Linked DNA regions of Homo sapiens: region 1 is linked to region 2. Evidence: promoter capture Hi-C in human tissues and cell types (Jung and others, 2019). All regions are on one chromosome and are shown on one strand. The core of a region is centred on a gene start or on the middle of the fragment in contact, and the rest is flanking DNA. Distances in the headings are between cores, read along the strand shown.

What was found. The method cuts DNA at HindIII sites, captures the fragments that hold promoters and counts their contacts. A contact is called where the count stands out against the background at its distance.
Region 1: a fragment that was not itself captured here is called in contact with the fragment with the promoter of PTPRR in region 2 in 2 of the 25 tissues and cell types used here (pancreas and sigmoid colon).

Annotation. Positions count from the first base shown.
Region 1 is chr12:70,377,162-70,384,378 of GRCh38, forward strand. All of the region lies in intron 1 of KCNMB4 (potassium calcium-activated channel subfamily M regulatory beta subunit 4), which reads left to right. Among named protein-coding and RNA genes, the nearest start is that of KCNMB4, 14 kb to the left of the region's middle. The HindIII fragment of the contact is 3,527 bases long and covers 4,154-7,217 here.
Region 2 is chr12:70,917,417-70,924,207 of GRCh38, forward strand. It overlaps PTPRR (protein tyrosine phosphatase receptor type R), which reads right to left and starts at 3,322. Exons shown (of 14, transcript NM_002849.4): 1 at 2,917-3,322. The coding sequence starts at 2,974. The HindIII fragment of the contact is 3,890 bases long and covers 1,774-5,663 here.

The sequences.
Region 1 (7,217 bases), core at 4,667-7,166, 540 kb before region 2:
TGACGAGCTGATTCTAAAATTCACACGGAAATGCAAGAGAACCATAATAAACAAAACCATCTTGAAAAAAGAGAACAAAATGGAAAGATTCACATTTCCTGAGATACACTGGAAATATTGCAGATTTGGTTCCAGACCACTTCAACAAAGCCAATATTACGATAAAAGAGTCACACAAATTTTTTAGTTTCCCAGTACATATAAAAATTACATTTATACTATATTAATGTGCAGTACCATTATGTCTTAAAAATGTACATACCTTAATTTAAAAATATTTTATTACTGAAAAATGCTAGTAATGATCTGAGCATTTAGAAAGTCATAATCATTTTGCGGGTGGAGGATCATGCCTCGATGTTGATGGTTGCTGACTAATCAGGGTGGTGGTTGCTGAAGGTTGAGGTGGCTGTGGAAATTACTTAAGCTAAGACAACGAAGTTTCCTGCATCAATTGACTCTTCCACAAAATGTTTCTCTGTTGCATGTGATGCTATTTAATAGCATTTTACTTACAGTAGAACTCCTTTCAAAATTGGAGTCAGTCCTCTCAAATCCCTCCACTGCTTTATCAACTCAGTTTAGGTAATATCTAGGTTAATTGTTGTCATTTGTCATTTCAACAGTGTTCACAGCATTTTCACCAGAAGTGGAGTCCATCTCAAGAAACCACTTTCTTTGCTCATCCAAATGAGGATTTGCAAATCCTCACTTGTTCAAATTTTATCATGGGATTCCAGAAATTCAAGCTATACTTCTAATTCTAGTAGAATCTCTTCAAGCTCTACTTCTTTTTTTTTTTTTTTGAGATGGAGTCTTGCCCTGTTGCCCAGGCTGGAGTGCAGTGGTGTAATCTCGTCTCACTGCAGCCTCCACCTCGCGAGTTCAAGTGACTCTCCTGCGTCAGCCTCCTGAGTAGCTGAGATTACAGGCATGCACCACCACACCCAGCTAATTTTTTTTTCTGTATTGGTAGTAGAGACAGGGTTTCATCATGTTGGTCAGGCTGGTCTCAAACTCCTGACCTCAAATGATCTGCCTGCCTTGGCCTCCCAAAGTGCTAAGATTACAAGCATGAGCCACCGCGCCCGGCCTTCAAGCTCTACTTCTAATTCTAGTTCTTTCCTATTTCTACCACATCTGTAGTTACTTTCTCCATTGATGTCTTGAACACCACAAGTCATCCATGAGGGTTGGAATCAACTTCTTCCAAACTCCTATAATGTTATTTTAACCTCCGTTCATGATTTACTAATGTTCATAATGGCATCAAATTGTTGAATCCCTTCCAGAAAGTTTTTCATTTACTTTGCCCAGATCCATCAGAGGAATCACTATAGCTACAGCTTTATGAAGTGTATTTTTTATTTTTTATTTTATTTATTTACTTTTTGAGATGGAGTCTCGCTGTGCCACCCAGGCTCGAGTACAATGGTGTGGTCTTGGCTCGCTTCACCCTCTGCCTCCTGGGTTCAAGTGATTCTCCTGCCTCAGCTTCCTGAGTAGCTGGGACTACAGTTGCACGCCACCATGCCCGGCTAATTTTTGTATTTTTAGTAGAGACAAGGCTTCACCATGTTGATCAGGCTGGTCTTGAACTCCTGACCTCAAGTGATTCACCCATCTCGGCCTCCCAAAATGCTGGGATTACAGGTGTAAGCCACCACACCCAGCCCAAAGTGTATTTTTTAAATAATAAGACATGAAAGTCGAACTTACTCCCTGATCCATGGGCTGCAGTATGGATGTCATGTTAGCAGGCATGAAAACAACATTAATCTCCTCATACATCTCCATCAGAGCTCTTGGGTGATGAGGTACACTGTCAGTTAGCAGTAGTATTTTGAAAGGAATCTTTTTTTCTGAACAGTAGGTCTCAACAGTGGGCTTTAAATATTCAGTAAACCATGCTGTAAACTGATGTGCTATCATCCAGGCTTTCTTGTTCCATTTCTAAAGCACAGGCAGAGTAGACTTAGCACAATTTTTAAGGGCCGTAGGATCTTTGAAATGGTAAATGAGCACTGGCTTCAGCTTAAAGTCACCAGCTACACTAGCCTCTAACAAGAGTCAGCCTGTTCTTTGAAACTTTGAAGCCTGGACTTTATAGCTATGAAAGTCCTAGATCTTCTTCCAATAGAGGGCTGTTTCATCCATGGTGAAAATCTGTTGTTTAGTGTAGCCACCTTTATAAATTATCTAAGCTAGATCTTCTAGATAACTTGCAGCTTCTACATGAGCACTTGCTGCTTCACTTTGCACTTTTTTTTTCTTTTTGAGACAAGGTCTGGCTGTCACCCAGGCTGGAGTGCAGTGGTGTGATCTCTGCTCACTACAACCTCCACCCCAAGCTCAAGCCATCCTCCCACCTCAGCCTCCCAAGTAGCTAGGACTACAGGTGCACTCTACCACACCTGGCTAATGTTTGTATTTTTTGTAGAGATGGGGTTTGGCCATGTTTCCCAGGCTGGTCTTGAATTTGCTCAAGTGATCTGCCTTCTTCTCCCTTCAGAATGCTGGGATTACAGGCATGAGCCACCATGCCCAGCCCATTTTGCACTTTTATGTTATGAAGATGGCTTCTTTTCTTAAACCTCATGAATGAACCTCTGTTAGCTTCTGTAGCTTCCTCACTTCTGGCAGCCTTCATAAAATTAAAGAGGGTAGAGCATTGCTCTGGATTAGGCTTTGGCTTAAAGAAATGTTGTGGCTGGTTTGATCCTCTATCCAGACCACTAAACCTTTCTCCATATCAGCAATAAGGCTGTTTCACTTTCTTATCATTCGTGTGTTCACTAGAGTAGCACTTTGAATTTTTTTGCAGAAGCTTTTCCTCTGCATTCACAACTTGGCTGTTTGGCAGAAGAGGCCTACCTTTCAGCCTGTCTCAGCTTTTGATGTGCTCTCCTCATTAAGCTTAGTCATTTCTAGTTTTTAATTTAGAGTGAGAGACAATGACTCTTCCTTTCACTTGAACACTTAGAGGCTGTTGTAGAGGTATTAATTGGCCTAATTTCAATATTGTTTTGTTTCAGGAATAGAGAGGCCCCAGAAGAGGTAGAGAGACAGGGGAACAGGTGGTTGGTGGAGCACTTAGAACACTCACACATTCATTGATTAACTTTGTCCTCATATGGGCATGGTTTGTGGCATCCCCAAAGCAATTATAATAGTAACATCAAAGATTACTGATCACAGATCACCATAACAGATATAATAATCATGAAAAGTTTGAAATACTGTGAAAATTACCAAAATGTGGCACAGAGACATGAAGTAAGTGCATGCTGTTGGAAAAAATGGTGCCAATGGACTTGTTCTCAGGGTTGCCACAAACCTTCCATCTGTAAAAGAATGCAATATCTGCAAAACACAATAAAGCAAGCAATAAAACGAAGTGTGCCTGTACAACAAAGCTACAGTACTCAGGACTGTGTGATACTGAATAAGGATGGACCTACCAACCTATGGAATAGAACTGAGAGTCCAAAAAAAAAAAAAAACCTATACATCATGGACGGTTGATTTTTGACAAGAGTGTCAAGAGCATTCAATAGGGAAAGAACAGTCTTTTCAATCAGTGGTGCTTGAACAGCTGAATATCCACATGCCAAGGAATGAAGTTGAACTCTGATTGCACATTAAAATAATGGATGGGAGACCTAAATATAAGTGCTAAAACTTTAATGCTTGAATATGATACTAAAAGCACAAGCAACTAAAGGACAAATAGATATGTTGGACTTAATTAAAATTAAAAACATTTGTGCTTCAAAGGACACCATCAATAAAATGAAAAGACAAGTGTAACAGAAAGAAAATATTTGCAAATAATGTATCTGATAAGTGTCTAGTACCAAGAAAATAATGAAGAATGCTTACAACACAACAAGACAAATAATCCAATTTAAAAGTGGGCAAAGGATGTGAATAGTTTTTTTTTTTCCAAAGAAGGTATCCAAATGGCCAATGAGCACATGAAAAAATGTTTGACATTTTTAGTCATGAGGGAAATGAAAATCAAAACCCCAATGAAATACCACTTCAGATCCATTAGAATGGCTGTAAAAAAGACAATAACAAGTGTTGTCAAAATAAATTGGAATCTTCATACAAGAATGTAAGAATGAAAAAGATAACAGCCACTTTGGAAAACAGTTTGACAGTTCCTCAAAACGCTAAACAGTTGCCATGTGACCAAGCAACTTTTTCCTAATTATATATCCAAGAGAAACGAAAACATGTCCATGCAGAAACTTTGTACATGACTCTTCATAGCAGCATTATTCATAATAGCTAAAAGGTGGAAACAAACCAAACATCCATCAACTGATGAATGGATAAATGAAATATGCTAATTCATACAATGGAAAATTACTTGGCTGTAAAAAGAATGAAGTGTTAATACAATATGGATGAACTTCAAAAATATGGTAAGTATAGGAAGCCAGCCACAAAAAAACACACGTTATATGAGTCCATTTACAGGAAATGTCCAGAATAAGGAAGGAAATCTATAGAGACTGAAAGTAGATTAGTGGTTGCCTAAAGCTAGAAGGCATGGGAAGATTGGGAATGACAGCTAAAGGGTACAGGGGTCTTTTTGGTGTAATGAAAACATTCTAAAATTGATTGTGATGATTGTTGCACACCTCTGTGCAATCTACTAAAAACCATTAAATTGTACACTTTTAATGGGTAAATTGGATGGTATGTGAATTATATTTCAATAAATCTCTTGCCCAAAAAATAATAATGAATGATTGCTTTGCAAATTTCAGCATTTCAAATAACTTGTAAAGCAATGTATTATTCAGCAAGTGGTGTTAAAACTGCCTATTATTTTTTGGAAATAAATTTTAAAAAACTAATTTTCTAAATTTAAAAACTTGTTTGGAAAATACTAGGAATCATCAAAATGTTATTTGGAAAATATTTACTTAGAAATATACATCTAATTAAAATTAAAATTTTAGTTTTGATGGAATAAAATTTTAAAGGTGGCCGGGCGCGGTGGCTCACGCCTGTAATCCCAGCACTTTGGGAGGCCGAGGCGGGCGGATCACGAGGTCAGGAGATCGAGACCACGGTGAAACCCTGTCTCTACTAAAAATACAAAAAATTAGCCGGGCGCAGTGGCGGGCGCCTGTAGTCCCAGCTACTCTGGAGGCTGAGGCAGGAGAATGGCGTGAACCCGGAAGGCGGAGCTTGCAGTGAGCGGAGATCGCGCCACAGCACTCCCGCCTGGGCGACAGAACGAGACTCCGTCTCAAAAAAAAAAAAAAAAAAAAAAAAATTTAAAGGTACAAAAATAAATTATGAAAGTACTAAATAAAATTTGGGTAAATATATATTTTATACATTAATATTGTATATATGGGGTGGGCAAAGCTTTTCTAAACATGTAGCAAGGACAGAAATCATAAAGGAATACACTGATTAATGATATAATAAGGGAAAACTTACACATTTTTTTGAACATTAAAATTGAAGGAAAAATGATAAATTTGGACAAATGTTTGCAACATGGTGGGGAAATGATTAAAAAGTCAACATATGAAGTACTCTTAGCAATAAAAGACCATCTCTTCAGTAAAATACTAGGCATGAACATGCGTAGGCAGTTCAGTAAAGAATTACAAATAAAAACATGAAAAATATGTGGTATCTCACTAAAAATCAAAGAAATACAGTCGTTCATTGTTTAAGGTGATTTTGTCCTGTGAACATCATAGAGTGTACTTACACAAACCTAGATAGTATAGCCTACTACACACCCAGGCTATATGATATAGCCTATTGCTCCTAGGCTACAAACCTGTACTATGAGTGTACTGAATACTATAGGCAGTTGTAGCAGAATGGTAAGTTTTTGTGTATTTAAACATAGAAAAGGTACAGTAAAAATACAGTATTATAATCTCATGAGACCACAGTCATAAATGCAGTTCATCATTGACTGAAATGTCATTATTCAGCACAGGACTGTACTAATCAGATCATAACTATGTAAGGTGATGGACGTGCTAATTAGATTGTGGCAGTTATTTCACAACGTACACATATATCAAAACATCACGTTATATACCTTAAATATGTGCAATTTTTATTTGTCAAGTATATTTCAGTAAAGCTAAGGGGAAAAAAGAAATATTAATTAATGCAATGTTGAGATACCTTTTCTGCCTATCAAGTTGGTACATATTAAATTGGTGGCAATATGGGGATGTGGGCAGTCTTGTGCACTGCTGGTGGCAACATGTTGCAGGAGCAATTGCATGTCAACTTGGAAATACATATCAAAATCCTGAAAAATACATGTCTTAGGGTCTTAGGGCTGCCATAACAAAGTACTACAAACGAGGTTGCTTAACTCAACAGAGATTTATTTGTCCACAGTTCTGAAGTCTGTAAGTCCAAAATCAAACAGGTCCATGCTCCCCTGAAGGCTCTAGAAAAACACCCTTCCTTGCCTCTTCCTAGCAATGGTTGTTTCCTGCAATCCTTGCATTCCTTGGCCTGCAGTTGCATCACTCCAGTTGCTGCCTCTGTCTTCACATGGCCTTTTTCCCTCTGTATGTGTCTCCGTATCCCTTTCTTCTTTCTCTTATAAAAACACCAGTACAGCCAGGTGCGGTGGCTTACGCCTGTAATCCCAGCACTTTGGGAGGCCAAGTTGGGTGGATCACTTGAGGCCAGGAGTTTGAGACCAGCCTGGCCAACATGGTGAAACCCTGTCTCTCCTAAAAACATAAAAATTAGCTGGGCTTGATGATGTGCACCTATAACCCCAGCTACTCAGGAGGCTGAGGCAGGAAAATCACTTGAACCCAGGGGGCAGAAGTTGCAGTGAGCCGAGACCGTGCCACTGCATTCCAGCCTGAGTGACAGAGCAAGATTCCATCTCAAAACAAACAAAAAACACCAGTCATTGAATTTAGGGCCTACTCTAATCCACTGTGACCTCATCTTAACTAATTCCATCTGCAAGACCCTATTGTGTTCATGTAAATTGAACATTTTTATATGAAAAAAGACTATATACAAAGATCAAAGATAAATGACAAAATGGAAAAAATGCACACCATAAATACGATTTTTGACCACCTGTAGCTTCTAAATTTCTCCAATAAAGAAGGCTTATTTTTGTGAGAGAAAACTGAGAACTGTTACTTTAAAATAAATGCTCTGTGAAACACAAGAGACTAAATATTACA
Region 2 (6,791 bases), core at 2,072-4,571:
TCTAGATCTTCATTTTCTCACCTGTAAAATAAGCAGTTGGATGGACAATAACCACAACTTCCTTGTTAGGTGATCTATAAAAATCGGCTGCCATGGGTAGAGTAGTGTCCAGCTTCTCTAACAAGAACCATGCTTAGTAATCCTTTAGTGTTAATTTACCCAGAGATGCCACTTACACAGCATGGTACCCACTCCTCATTTTTCTCCCACAGCTATTATAGACCACAGTACTTCTCCCTAGCCAGAATGCGAGTCATAATCTTCTTTTTCCCCCCGATGGTGTCTTAGGCAACCATAAGCAAAATAATGGGAGATGGCACTCAAGTTGCAAGCAGTTTGCTACTTATCATTACAGGCATGGTTATATTGAAGGCAACAGTTCCTAATATAGCTAAAAAGAACACTTACATCCCGTTAGCACATTCCTCCCATCTCTAAAGCATTATAAGGTGTCATCAGTTCCACCAGCATAAAGCAGTTGCTGATACCCTGGGCGTAACCAAAATGGATCAATTAGCTTTACAGTTAAAGAGGCCTGAATGTATAGAATTCATTTCCCTTCTTTATGAAGTCAGCCTCTGTTCTGAGAGAAAAGTCTTCCATAAAAGTAACAAACTCACACCTTCAACAAGTAGAGATTAATATCTTGATTTCTTGATCTTTGTCATCCCATCCACTTATTTTCTTAATCTCCAAATGTATAGAAGCTTAGACCAAGGAGCTGTGTTTGTTTTAGTTCTGATGAAAAGCCCTAACAATGTTATTAGATAACTGTGATAAATTTTAATCTGATGACAGCTTGTGACCCACAAATTGCTGTTTAAAATTAAAATGCATTTAAAATGAAATTGGCAAGAGAACTATAATATTAAACTTACAATCTGCTGTGATAAAACACCAATGTATTTTACTATATTAAATATGAATACAATGAATAGTATCTTGCAATTGAAATATAAAAATGTCCTTAAATGCATTTTCTTATTAAATTAAAATTGGTTGATTAATCTTACTTTTTATCTTTGTTTTGCAAATTAAAAAGTTGAAGTAGAGATGGATTGGATTGGCTTTGGTAATATACCCTTTGGCAGAACTCCAGGTAAAATCTAGGGCTACAGGCTTCTAGGTTTCTCATCTGATGAGCAAAAGTCCTCATTTTTCTCATCCCGAATATTCATCTACAGTAAATCAAGACATGTTTTTCACATGCTTCAGTTTATTTATAACTTTTAAGATATAATTACTCAAGATGTATCAAATGTGATCTTTAAACTTTTTTATATGTTAGTTTTGAAAAAATGACTACACTGATATTGTTGGCAGACCAGCTAAATCATTGCTACCTTAGTAAGAATTGAGATTTTTCTGTAATGAATGTTTGTGTCAGTCTATTATTAAGCAATACTATAAATAAAACTCAACCCAATGTGTATGTTTTCATCCCACATTTCAGCATTGAAGAATTGTATGTGGTAACGAAATAATTCACTACAGCTGTTTGCAAATAATTTAATAATCAAGTCATAGCTATTTTCTACTTCTCAAAATGTGCCAAAGAACTATTGAAAACTCCACAATATAACATCATAATTATAACAATTAACATGTGTATTTAATAATAGCTTTAATAATCCTATGCATTATTTGCTCAAAAGATTCATGATACATTTAAATAATAGCGTTAGCTGGAATAAGAAAGTACCATATTTCACTCCTACTATTGTACACAGAGAATAAAATTCACCCACTCTTTTAAAAAAGATACTGCAAGGATTGTAATTTCAGAACAATTATTTTTACTCATTACCCCTAGAACATAGTATACACTCAGCAAATGTTGCTTGAAGGAATGAATGGATATGTGTGATTGGATGAGAAGCACACTCAGGGAAAATGCCTCGTCTCTGGTTGTTACAGGACTACTGCATGGACAACTGCTGTCACAGTAGGGTTTCTAAAATCTCCCTGCCATATTTTATTTTGGTTCATGTGTGTGTGACAATGATAAGGAATTCAGCCTAGCAAGTCTGTCTGCATTAAATAGAGGTGCTATGTATGCAAAAAGCAGGGACACCACATATAATATCTCTCAGGTACTTCCCAAGGTTTGCTTCCTCACGAGACTTGATATTGATTCTGGTGCCTCAAATCTATTTATATTTGGGAGCAGTCTCACTGTTACTCTTGGTTACACCTTATCAAATCTGTCCGAGGGACAGTGCCTAACCCAGGGTTGTCAGCTTTGGAACTGTAATTGTTTTTTTTTTTTTTTTTTTTTTTTTTTTTTTTAATATGCCAGCGGACGCTAGCCACGGTGCTGAAAGAGACAAGAGGATTCTATTTGAAACCTTTTCTTCCTCTTATTGGCTTAGAAAATTCGAGTGACAAGAGCAGGGGCCAAAGGAGCCTGGTGCAGCATCACTAATGTGAACCATGTATTTCGATCTTTTGGGCGGAGATGTGGTCCATCAGGTTACAGCCAATGCCTTCCTATGAGCGCTCGCTAGACCAAGAGACCTTATGAATGTAGTAGCCGCTGCAGTAGAAAAGGTTACATCTAGCAGGATGTCTTATCCCTCTCCTGAAAAATTGACAGTTAAGTGCATAGCCTAGAAACAAGAGCAGGGAATCTAGACGGAGGGGAGGCGAAGGGGGGAGCAAACCTGTATTCATATTGAAAATGTTCACTATTTTCGTATAAAGTAAAGAAAAATCAAGAGCTAATTTTAGGTTAAGTTTTCGGCCTCAGTTTTCCAACAGGTGCACGACTCCCTCACCCCTTCCCTGTCAGGTACTGTCCTGTTTTACCTTTTTAGAAAGGCTTTCTTCGCAAGGCAAGCTTTTCCTAGAGTCCTTAAGCATGTGCAGTTTCCCATCTCATGCACAGCTCCGGCTCTAAGCCTGGCAACCCCTTACCTGCAGCGTGAAGATTAAGGAGCAGGCACAGCGCAGGGAAGCAGACTGCTCTCCGCATAGTGTTTGCATTGAGAGGTGGAGGAGAAACTCCACCACGACCCCACTTCAGGTAAAGTGCTATTAGAAAGAGCCACCGCCAAGGGTCTTCTAGTCTCCGGGATTCAGGTCCTCGGCTGGGGTTTGCAGAGCAGTCAGTCTGTGGCGCCGACAGAAACCAGCACCAGCTTCAACCTCCCTAAGAGAGGGAGAGAGGAAGAGCAGTAGGAGGTTGCGGGTAAGGGGAACAGAAGCGCTCAGAGGCGGCAAATGCCTGGCCTTCTGGACGCCCAGAAGCCAAGGCGGAGACGGCAGGGTGGACTCCGCGCCAGCCCAGCAGCCCAGCAGCAGCGCCGCGGCTACTGAGCATGCCCAGCGCCGGCCCTCACGAGGCAAGGGAATTTCAAAGTGAAATTCCGCTTCTCCGGGTCTTAGCGGCGGCTTGGAGCAGAGTAGGCTCCATCGCTGGGGTGGTGGTTGGGGGTGGGGGTGGGGGTGGGGAAGGGGGAAGTGCGGGGGAGACACTTGCTGTGGTTACTAGGGACCCAGCGTCCATCACAAATCCGAAGGTGGGGTGTAGCTGAGTGAGAGTAGATGGGGGCACGACCACAGGAGTCAGAGGAGGGAGCTGATGACATTGTCAACCATGCCACCCACCCTACTCTTTCCCCAAATCTTGATTTACACGTGGACCGAGCTCACTGCTGGGAATTGGCATTTGCAGATTGACCAGCTTCCCAGGACTCGCCTACAGGAATAGAGGTGTCTTCCACTGCTGAGCATTCTGGCTGCTCGGGGGAAGCGTTCCCAAGGCAGCTTGCTTGGTGTAAGCAGTAACCATGTATCTTGGGGGTGACTTCGTCCTTCCTACAGCTTCCCCCTCTTTGCTTCTCTTTCCACTCTTTCCAGCTCAATGACTGTATTTAAACTTTCTTCTGACTCAAGTCCTCACAGTGACAGAAAGAAGTGAGAAGATACTTTTAGACTAGTAGAATATATCCATGTAATTGAAGCACAAGAAGGCACCTTTTTGTTTCGTGGAGGTAATTAACTTTAGTTTCCCTTTTACTCTTTAAGGTGAAAGATAATGGATCACGTCAGTGCCTGGACTCATCCGGCCCAGCTCTGTGTCTCTAGGGAGGCTACCACAGTCTGCCATTAGATGGTTTTTTATCCCTCCATCTAAGTCTTTGGAGTGTGGAAAGCCTTATTAGTCATGGCTAATTGCTGCTAGTCAAGTCAAGAAGTCCCTCAGCTAGACTTCTCTTTTAACTATCCCAGGGCCTCTGCCCTTTCTGCCTCTGTGTCTTTATGGACACTGTTGCCTCTTTCCCATTTTCCTCCACTTGCACCACCACCACACTAGTTTTCGAAGGTGTAATGTTGGTCTCACTTTTCCAGAAAGCCCTAACTCTAACTAACTCTAGATTACAGTGATCTTTCTCTTCCACAACACTTGTTTAGCCGTGCCTCATATTATTCTTTCAGACAGTTCATTTATCTGTGGTTTGTTCTACAGCACATTGAAGTCTCCATAAGAACTGCTGAGTTTTGTATTCCATTAACTTGAATAAAGTTGTCCTAGCCAAATAATTGGGGCTAACAAGTGCCCATTGAGTTGAGCTGCACATCTCATTCAGTGCTTTCTTTCTCCATCCTCTGTGAATTGAGACAACTAATGGGAAATAGGCTATCCACCAGAGCTTAAATTAGGTGGGACCTTATAAGATCAGAGAGCCCAGGCGGTACCATTTATTTCTTTTATGATTTATGTCATCTTCAGCTCTGAGAGACAAGGCCAGGAAGCACTCCAACAAGTGGGAGAAGGGGACAATGAGATGTACTTTTAATATCTTGACAGGCCTTCTCTGCTGAAAATAGAGACATATCTCCATGTCTAGCCCCTCTCTAGCAACGTGCTCCACCCCCTACTCCCCCATGCGTGTGGCACACTCCATTTCTGTGGCACTATCATTTCATCCCAAACCACTCTAAGCTGCAACCTCTTCTCCTATTCCTGATTCACTGTCCTCCAGTTTGCTTTTCCCGTATCACTTTCTAACAAACCAAAATAATTACTTATAAAATCTATTGTTTAGTATCTATTTCCCTACTCCCCCCCGCAAAACAGAATTTGAGCTCCAATGTTGAAGAACTTTGATGACTTTATTGATATGTCCCAACTCCCTAGAGCAATGCCTCATGCAAAATAGATACTCAAAAATGAATAAATGAAAATGATAGTTGACAAAGTTCAATACTGACAATTAACTCTTTGAAATTCTTACTGAGTCAACCTTTGAGATAATTTATTTAGCATTCTGTAAAGCTTAGAAGAATAACTCTTCTCATCTAACATCTGTTACTAGAAATGCTGCAGGGCTGGAGGTTAGGGAAAAATAATTGTATCCCACTTACAATAGGTCTATTTTTCTTATTTTCTTGTTTCCTAAAATAACTAATTATCAAACTTACATAGATCTCCAAGAATAAAATATACTTACTTATGGTAATGAAACAATGCTGCAGTAATGTTCTGAACCCCTTCCTTTTCCACAGATAATTCCAACATTTATTGGTGGGGCATTTAAAATTCCCATTATTATAATTGACTATGACTTTGCCAAAAAGCATCCTGCTGGCAATGTATTTTGTTCAGGGCTGCAGGTAGCTGAATTGTTAAACTATGCATGAAAATTCCGTTAGCAGCAAAAATTTCCAATTTCCAATTTGGCTGGATATATCATTAGAATAGTTAGTTCAGCATGGTAAAAATAACCCTGAGTGGGCTGTAATTTTGGTGACTAGACATTCATTATTAATTTACTTAGAAATGATAAAGTAACGAAAAAGGTCATATTCCTATGTGAGTCAATCTAATATCATACTTGTAACGGCTTCAATTCACTTTTTCACTAATTGGCTAATTCACTCATTGCTGTTCGTGAAGTCAAACAGCAATGAATGAATTAGCCAATTAGTGAAAAAGTCAACCACTTAACTCATACAGAAATATTCTGAGTCGATAGGTGCTGTTTTTCCTTAACTGTGATCTAATGCTAGTGAAGGTGACTTGGTGTTTTGGAAAAAAAGCTTGGTTAAAACACTGCATCAGGGTTTTAAAAAGTTAGCTGTAATTCAAAGAAGCATGGAAATTACTATGAGAGAACTATACAAATTAGTAGTGGCCTACAGAGCTATGTCATAAAAGAATCATTTACATTTTACAAGATAAATAAAAAATATCATATGGAATTTTCCTCCACATAAGATGCATAATTTCTTTTTCTTATGAGGTGAGTCTTAGAGAAAATTTATGCAAGAAAGAAGCTTTTCAGAGCCTGCCTTCAAAACAGATTTAATCATTATGAGCATCCATATTTACTTCTCTATAAATGGATGAAAATTATTCATGTCAGCCATCTTTCCTTAAGACACTTTAAATTGAGAAATCAGATCCATTGATTATAAGGATCTCCTACTTAAGTTATTTAGATTACTATTATTTAAGTATAATTATGGCTAACATTGACTGTGCTTCCTGTGTGCCAGGTTCTATTCTAAGCATTTGGATGTCCTATTTAAACATTATAATATTTCTACAAAAGGATACTATAATGATCTCATTTTAGAGATAATATAGTTGAGGCATGGAGAAGTAACTTGCCCAAAATCAAGTAGTAAGTAATCAGTTAAAAAGTAAATTGATAGAATTAAGATGTACATCTGATAATTTGATACCAAACCACTATATTATACTACCTCTAATAACACACACACACACACACACACACAGACACACACACACTCAGTTGTAGGTTGCTCACTAGAATTAGATG